2 separate regions of the Homo sapiens genome follow, and region 1 is linked to region 2. The links are contacts of gene promoters, found by promoter capture Hi-C in blood cells and fetal thymus (Javierre and others, 2016). All regions are on one chromosome and are shown on one strand. The core of a region is centred on a gene start or on the middle of the fragment in contact, and the rest is flanking DNA. Distances in the headings are between cores, read along the strand shown. Region 1 overlaps LOC105377996 (a long non-coding RNA gene). Region 2 holds the start of LAMA2 (laminin subunit alpha 2).

Region 1 (3,771 bases), core at 874-3,373, 1.3 Mb before region 2:
GGAAGCAGGCCAAAAGCCTGTTTAAATTAGTCATAGCACAGTGAGGCCCAGAGGATTTAGGCTTGATGCAGAGGAGATGGTTAATTCAGAACCTCTGCACTACAACCTGATTTGTGGGCCCAGCCCTTCCCTGGATGCCTGTGCTTTGTTTTTGTTCTAGTCACAATGAGTTTTCAGAAAACTCTGTCCAAGCCTCACACCTAATTCAACAGATATTTTTTGAGCAGTGACCTCATTCCTGGTGCTGTATCAGTACTGTCCTACGATAATGAACAAGGTGGAAAAGAGCTCTGTCTTTGAGATGTTTAACAAAGGATGACTATAAAAATTTAATCTCTAATGAAAGCAAGTAATTTGAATATGTAATAGAAGAATTTTGTCCTCAAGTTGACTTCTTATTGTAATTTTAAAAATAATTACATAGAGAAGAACCAAACACATAAGCAATGCTAGAAACCACTAAAGAAGAATACACTATTTTAATGTCAGTAAACCCCGTCATTGGCATAAGAAGGGTTATGTTATATTAGCAGGGCAGTGAAAAATTTGTTGTTTTTATCATCAATTATCACGTTTTTACTAACACTGACTTACAGCAGAAGTGGCAAACCTTTTTTGTAAAGGGCCAGATAGTAAATATTCTGCTTTTTGGTGGGCAACTCTATTATTGTATCCCAAAACCAGAAATAGACAAGATGTAAACTTATGGATGTGGCCAAGTTCCAATAAAACTTTATTTACAAGTGGACAAGATTAGGCCCATAGCTTGCTGACCTGTGCCTTTGAAGTCTTTTAGACAATAGTGACAACACTGATATTTAGAACTCAGCTTGGCCTATCTAAGAACACGTTATCCTATCATTCTGAATTCAACAGAAAGCTTCATTTTATTGTTCACTGCTCTTGGAAATGATACATTGTATAACTTTTCATTTTTTAAAAAAACTGTTTACTGAATATCTGTTAAGCATAAAACTTATGTAATTATCATGAATAAATAAAAATTTTCATTTTTAGGCAGATATTTTTAGAAAATATCTTAATATTCTTAGGGATATTTCCTTAAGAAAAGTATAGGTTACAAATTATCAAAGTTTGGATAAGACAGTGATATCTCTAGGTTTGGCATAGCAGCAGAATTAAGGGAAGATTTTATGAAGGATGTGGCATAAAGGTTGGAGCACATTTTTTATTTATACATACAGCTGGTCCTTCCATATAACTTGTTCTATCCCAAATACTGGTATGCAAGAGGCACTTGGAAATGTATTGAAGGAAGACAACTGAAGCAATAGACACAGTTAGAGGCTCTAAAGTAATTGTTCCACAGAAAACAACTACTTCCAGCTCTTCTTATTGTCCTTTGAGCTCATTAATTTTATTTTTCCTATTTAAGTTTCACATTTCTGAGTTTTACATACCTAAAATAAAAGTTAATTTGTGTGGTATTTTTATTGAGTGAAGAAGTGCTTAGAAAATAATTCTCCATGAATATTTTTGTTTCTTCACAGTCCAGAGGCAGTTGGTGTATCTATTAAAGGATGACTTAAAGACAAACATGACTTGGATGTTAGGTAGCACACTGCTCCAGAGAGTAGTTCAACTCTTATCCCTACTGGAATCACTTGTTTACAGTACAGAGTAGCGATCACTCACCCCACCCTCTAGAGTAAAGGTAAGAAGGATGAGATGTCTCTCATTTTGTTTCTCTCTCTCTCCCACCTTTGTCTCTCGCATGCACCCATGCAGAATAGAATGATACACCAGCTGCTCCATATATGTTCCAAGTCTTACTTTAGGGTTCATCTGCTGTGAGGCAATGCTACTGCATGCGAGAGTGAACATCATTTATTGCATTAACCCATGAAAACTGAAGCATGGGAAACGGATGCTAAGGCAATCTGTCAGTAATAAATGGTCTGTTCTCTGATCCAGAGGCATCTTCTTTCCTGCTAGAAATTACATATATATGAAATAATGATACTTGAAATTACATATATATATACATACATAAGTATGAAATAATTTTTGTACATTATGAAGAAATTCTGTAAGAGGACAGAGGGCTGATGGGAATAGATAGCAGACAGATTGTCCAAACTGTATGGTCAATTGGGCAATATATGGGACTTTGTTTCCTTTTCAGTGTTTCAAGGGATACAATCACAGCTGCCAGGAGGTTATAAATCTTTTATGAAAGTACAAAGTTTGAGTTCATTCACCCTTCTCTAAATCATTGTAATAGAGTATTGTGGTTCCAAAATAATTAAAAAGCACAAATAAAAACCTATCAATAAATCACAGGTGCACACTTAAATCCTCATACACAACAATGTTATCTCTCCTAAATGAGCTTTAACCTGTCAACTTCTCCCTTTCTGAGAGTGGTCCAGCATTTCCAAGTTTTCTAAAGGAATATCTATGGAATCCAGGACAAACATAGTGTTACCTTTGACCATAGAAGAAATGGTGATGAGTGGTTGTATTCTGGATATTTGAATGTAGTACCAACATAGTTTCTTTATGGATCAGGTATAGGGTATAACAGGAAGAAGGATGTTATAAGTGATTCCATGATAATTCTTTTTCTTCACTTCCCACTTCCCACTTCTTCACTACTTTTTCTGAACAATTCAGTGAAAAATTTATTTGGTAGACAAAAGTAAAAAATTGTGGGAAGGGAGTCATGGTGACAAAACATGGAGATCCAGAGCCTAAGCAGGGTGAAGAAGTTGTGCTCACAAAAGGGGAGGCCATGTAGGAAAACAGAGTATAAACCTGGACCGGAAGGCATTGCCAGAGAGGGGAGGCCCAGCATGGGGAGTCAGAGGGCAAGCAGAGTGAAGAGGAAATTCAGCGATAGAGGCCATGTACTACAAGATATTGGAGCCCAAAAAGATGGGTGAGAAGGCATCCATACAGATGAGGAGGTTATGGCACAGATGATGGATGGAATTATATACAGAAAAATTAAACAAGTACATATTCAAAGCAAATGGAAGCCACATTCTTTCACTGTTAGAGAAGGAAGATTCAAACATTGAAAAGTGTGATAACTAAAGTAATTGCTGTGCTATTGGATTGGAATTAGCAATATTGGTGTGAACTCATAATTTGCAATATACATAAATTAGATAGATGATGTGTTCTAAATAGATAATGGTAGACACATAGATAGATGGATATAGAGGTGAGTAGATGCATCTACTGAGAGGGATGCATGAATATGAGCAGGAATATCCCAAAAGTCATAAACAAATCTACCACTCAGGCCTTGACTTCTTCAAAATATTATTTTTCAATAAATGAAACAAAAGTGCCTTAGAGAAATGGATAATTCTAGGGATAAGAGAGGTAAAGGATAAAATAAGCTTAAGATACATTCTTGTGCCTGAAAGCAATGAAGTGTTCAAAAATAGATGGATATATTGTCAAAGGGAGCTTCCACTGGCCAAGACTGAAACAATGGAGTATCAAAATAAATAATAAAGCATGGAAATCCACTGAATAAAATGAAAAACATGAATAGAGAGATATAAATAAATAAATGAATGTTTTAAATTTTGATGAGAAACAGGATAGATTCAAAGTATCTTCCACATATACATCTACAATACATATTTATGCTATATAATATATAAATACACATGCAAATACATCTATAATACATATACATAATATATAGAATATAACAATACATGTATAACATATAAACATATTAAATATAAAGAAATATAACAAATATAAGTAACAAATATGGGACATAAGCGA
Region 2 (3,781 bases), core at 610-3,109:
TAATCATTTTCCTTTTTATAAATATTCAATAAAACTTTTCCTTTTTATAAATATTTTTTATTATTTATTAGATTAACTAATTTGAGTTGAGGCCACAACGTGGTTGAGTAAAAATAATCATTCTGAGAATAGCAATAGGTTTAGAAGGTTAATTTAGGGTGCCTCTCTGCTATTAGATGTACCTGAAAAACACTTCTAGGCAAAATTAGACCAAATTAAAAACACTGGGGCTTCAATTATAATAAACTCTCAAATATAAGTTTTATTATTGTTTATTATAATAATAAATAATGTATAAGTGTGCAGACATGGGCAGACTACATTTTGCAAATTTCCACAGTAAGGTAAAAGGATTACAAAGCTTTCTGGTATAATATTAACAGAACTAAAAGACATGAATAATATTAAAGAATGGGCTTTGGCTAGTGATTTTCAATCAATTCTCTTCAAAGCAATACTCTCTTAATTTTACTGAAAGAAAATTCAACTTTAATATAATATTTAGATAAATCAATACATCTTAACTATAAAAAAGAAAACTATCTATATAAGACAATATGTATTTCAACATATAAATGCTTGGGTAAAACTTCCTTAGGAGGCAAAATAAAATAAAAGTTTGCACCTATTCTTAGATGACCCCAGTGTAATCGATGGGATGTTGATATTGTGCTGGTGACTCAAGTACCATGGGCAAGGTTGTTATCAGTGATGTGCTTCTCTGAAAGTACATCTTTACACCCATTGACAAATGGGTGTAAAATCCAAAAACACAAAGTAAATTATCTTCTCAATGTATATAGTAGATGCATCCTAGAAAAAAACAAACAAACAAACAAAAAACACACACAAAAATTTGATGTGGAAACAAACTTAAATTAGGTTTCAAATATAAGGCAAGGTTTTGTTGTTTTGTTTGTTTGTTTACTCACTACATAAATGACCAGTGGCCCATTCAGAAGTCTAAGGACAAAATATGTTGTAGGACTGTCCTGACCACTGAGGGACAGCTCACACCCTGACCCAACAGTACACTAATGCCTGCAGTACCCACCGTTCCCGGAGTAAACCAAAAGACATCCTGCGACTCACAAAATCCATTATGGAGTTGTTTTAAACCTTATGAGAACCACTGACCTAGGCCATAAAAAACAAATGAAAAAACAACAAAAACTAGGAATGGCAGTAGTTCTGTTGAGTTAAAGAGGAGAAAGAGGAGAAACCAGGACTGGAAGAGATGAAATTGTGAGTCTGGAAGGAAACTATTGCAAAGGCCTTTATTACCTTTAAGTAAATGTCTCCTAACTGAACTGAAAGCCTTCATTCTAACCATTAGTTTGGTCAGGAACATTTCAGGGACGCCAGGGTGGCTGTTTTATTTTGCACTTCCTTTACTGCCCTCCCAGCAGCCTACCTAGCAGTAAGTTCCCCAGCCTGCAGTGTCCCCAGAGGGCACCTTCCCTCGGCTAGTAACTTCTCAGACACTCTGGCCTTGGGGATGTCTTGGATCTTCTAGGTACACAGTGGCTGCACACAGTTTTGCCAGGCCTTTCTCAAGAGGTAAAAGTTCCTAGCTGTTTGCATTTCCCAGAAATAATGTTTTCCATGTGTAGGGATTTTACAGATTTCAAAGTGCTTTCATGTCAATTACTTTCTTTAATTTAAAAGAAGTTCAGATACCAGGTCAAGCTAGGAATGATCCGGTCTCAGAGGGAAGGAGCGCTCTAGGAAAGGAGGATCCTTTAATAGAGGGCCGTCCTGGGGCCGCGTGCCCATGGAAGGCGAGAGTGGAGGAGTGTCCTCTTTCTCCCCCACCCTCAGGCGGCGGCCCGGCCAAAGCCAGAGGGGGCTGTCTCCTCCTCTTCCCCAGCAGCTGCTGCTCGCTCAGCTCACAAGCCAAGGCCAGGGGACAGGGCGGCAGCGACTCCTCTGGCTCCCGAGAAGTGGATCCGGTCGCGGCCACTACGATGCCGGGAGCCGCCGGGGTCCTCCTCCTTCTGCTGCTCTCCGGAGGCCTCGGGGGCGTACAGGCGCAGCGGCCGCAGCAGCAGCGGCAGTCACAGGCACATCAGCAAAGAGGTACAGTCGAGGCATGGGCTTGGGTTGCATCCTTTGCCGGGACCGAGATTCCTCACTTCTTCCACTCTTCCGAGAGTTGCTGTCTGTGGACTGCCGTCTTGCTTCGCCTTCAGAGAGTGCGCTCTGGGGCAAGAGGAACTTGAAGCAAGTTCAAGTTCAATGCCATGAGAGCGTAGTGTAGGGGGAATTACCTAAGTCCTGCAAAAGGAACGGGGAGTGCTTTTCATTGTTCTTTAGTTTCGAAGAGGTCTTGCTATCACGATACATCCCGTAAATTGATTTCTGAAATCTTTCCAAGAGGAAAACTTTTTCCAATTGGAAAAAAAAGAATTTCTTCAAATCAGAGCCCATCCTGCAGAGAAAGGCTTCCCAAGCTGTGTGGTTCATCCTGGGACTTTATGGAGGGTAGCTGATGCATCAAAAAAAAATTATATATATATATATACACACACACACACACACACACACACACACACACATATATATATATATAAAGTTTTACAGAACTTTGTTTTCAACTTTTAAAACAGGATTTCTAAAGAAGTTATGTGGTTTTTTTTCTTTCATGGCAATGGCGCCTCCAGCCTCACCTTTTTCAAACCCACATCTTATCTTCATATCCTATTTTATTGTAGTGAAATCGTGAAATTTCTCCTTTTGCTTAAATACAGAGGAGACTTCTATGTCATGTGTACTTTAAGGCCACAGTGACTAGATATACACTTTGGAGGACTTTGGAAGATGGCTGTATTTAATGTAACTTAAATAACTTATTCTCCTCAGAGCCTCTTAGTGTTTATGTATATATAGCTCTCATTTCTGAAACTTTGGGGAGTCTTTGAAGAGTTATTTTATTATCATGAATTTTACAGGAAGCACATGTGCAGCATTGTAAGACATACTTTGTAACACATTATTTCAGCAAACAATTCTTTAAGTTGGAAAACCTGTATCAAAGTAAAAAAAAAAGAAATATTTATTATTCGGTTTTAAATATGAAAATGTTTAACCTAAGAGTACAAAATCTGTAGGTTAGAAGCTTTTAAAAGTTTTAATGAGGCTGAATCTGCTTAAGTTTTGAAGTATACTTATCCTTCTTCCAGTTAACTTCTAGCCAAGTCAATAGTTCTGATATTTGTTCTTATAATCTAGCATTTTTAGCAGTACTATTTTTTAAGGAGTAAAGAGATATCCCAAGCTCTTTCTATAATAATAACTCCCTGATTAAAATTCTTGGAATAAAAATGACCTTGCATTCACTATATAACTTTTTTCCTTCTATTTTTGCTTTTGCTTCTCTGAGAGGTAAAATGGGGCCAATATGACTTAATTAATATAATTTACGAGAGTGATTTTAAGAGTATCTCTGGCCACTTATTTTTAAAAATTCTACTTTTAACTATTAAACTTTGCTCAATTACAAGGTGTGTTTAAACAAGACATAATACTTTAATAATGTTAGGCAGCTGGGAGAAATGAGGGGCCAGGGGCACCAATCCTTATGTCCACTTGGAATGGGGCAGAAACTCAAAGCATGCAGAGTAAGGATCAAGTAAATTGTTGCTAAGAATTATCCTGAACACACACAGGATTTCTCTTTTTTCCTCTCCCTTCTTATTTACTCTCTTTTCAAATAAGGTAATATTAACTCTGATTTCTATGACCCAGGCACAAGATGAAGTGAATTCAGGAGGAAGGGTTT

What was found. Contacts are between HindIII fragments. The CHiCAGO score rates a contact against its expected background, and 5 or more counts as called.
Region 1: a fragment that was not itself captured here is called in contact with the fragment with the promoter of LAMA2 in region 2 in 4 of 17 cell types (non-activated CD4 T cells, naive CD4 T cells, total CD4 T cells and 1 more); the score reaches 5.7 in non-activated CD4 T cells.

Annotation. Positions count from the first base shown.
Region 1 is chr6:127,608,744-127,612,514 of GRCh38, forward strand. All of the region lies in intron 1 of LOC105377996 (a long non-coding RNA gene), which reads left to right. Among named protein-coding and RNA genes, the nearest start is that of C6orf58, 33 kb to the left of the region's middle. The HindIII fragment of the contact is 2,491 bases long and covers 879-3,369 here.
Region 2 is chr6:128,881,279-128,885,059 of GRCh38, forward strand. It overlaps LAMA2 (laminin subunit alpha 2), which reads left to right and starts at 1,860. Exons shown (of 65, transcript NM_000426.4): 1 at 1,860-2,079. The coding sequence starts at 1,968. The HindIII fragment of the contact is 2,757 bases long and covers 360-3,116 here.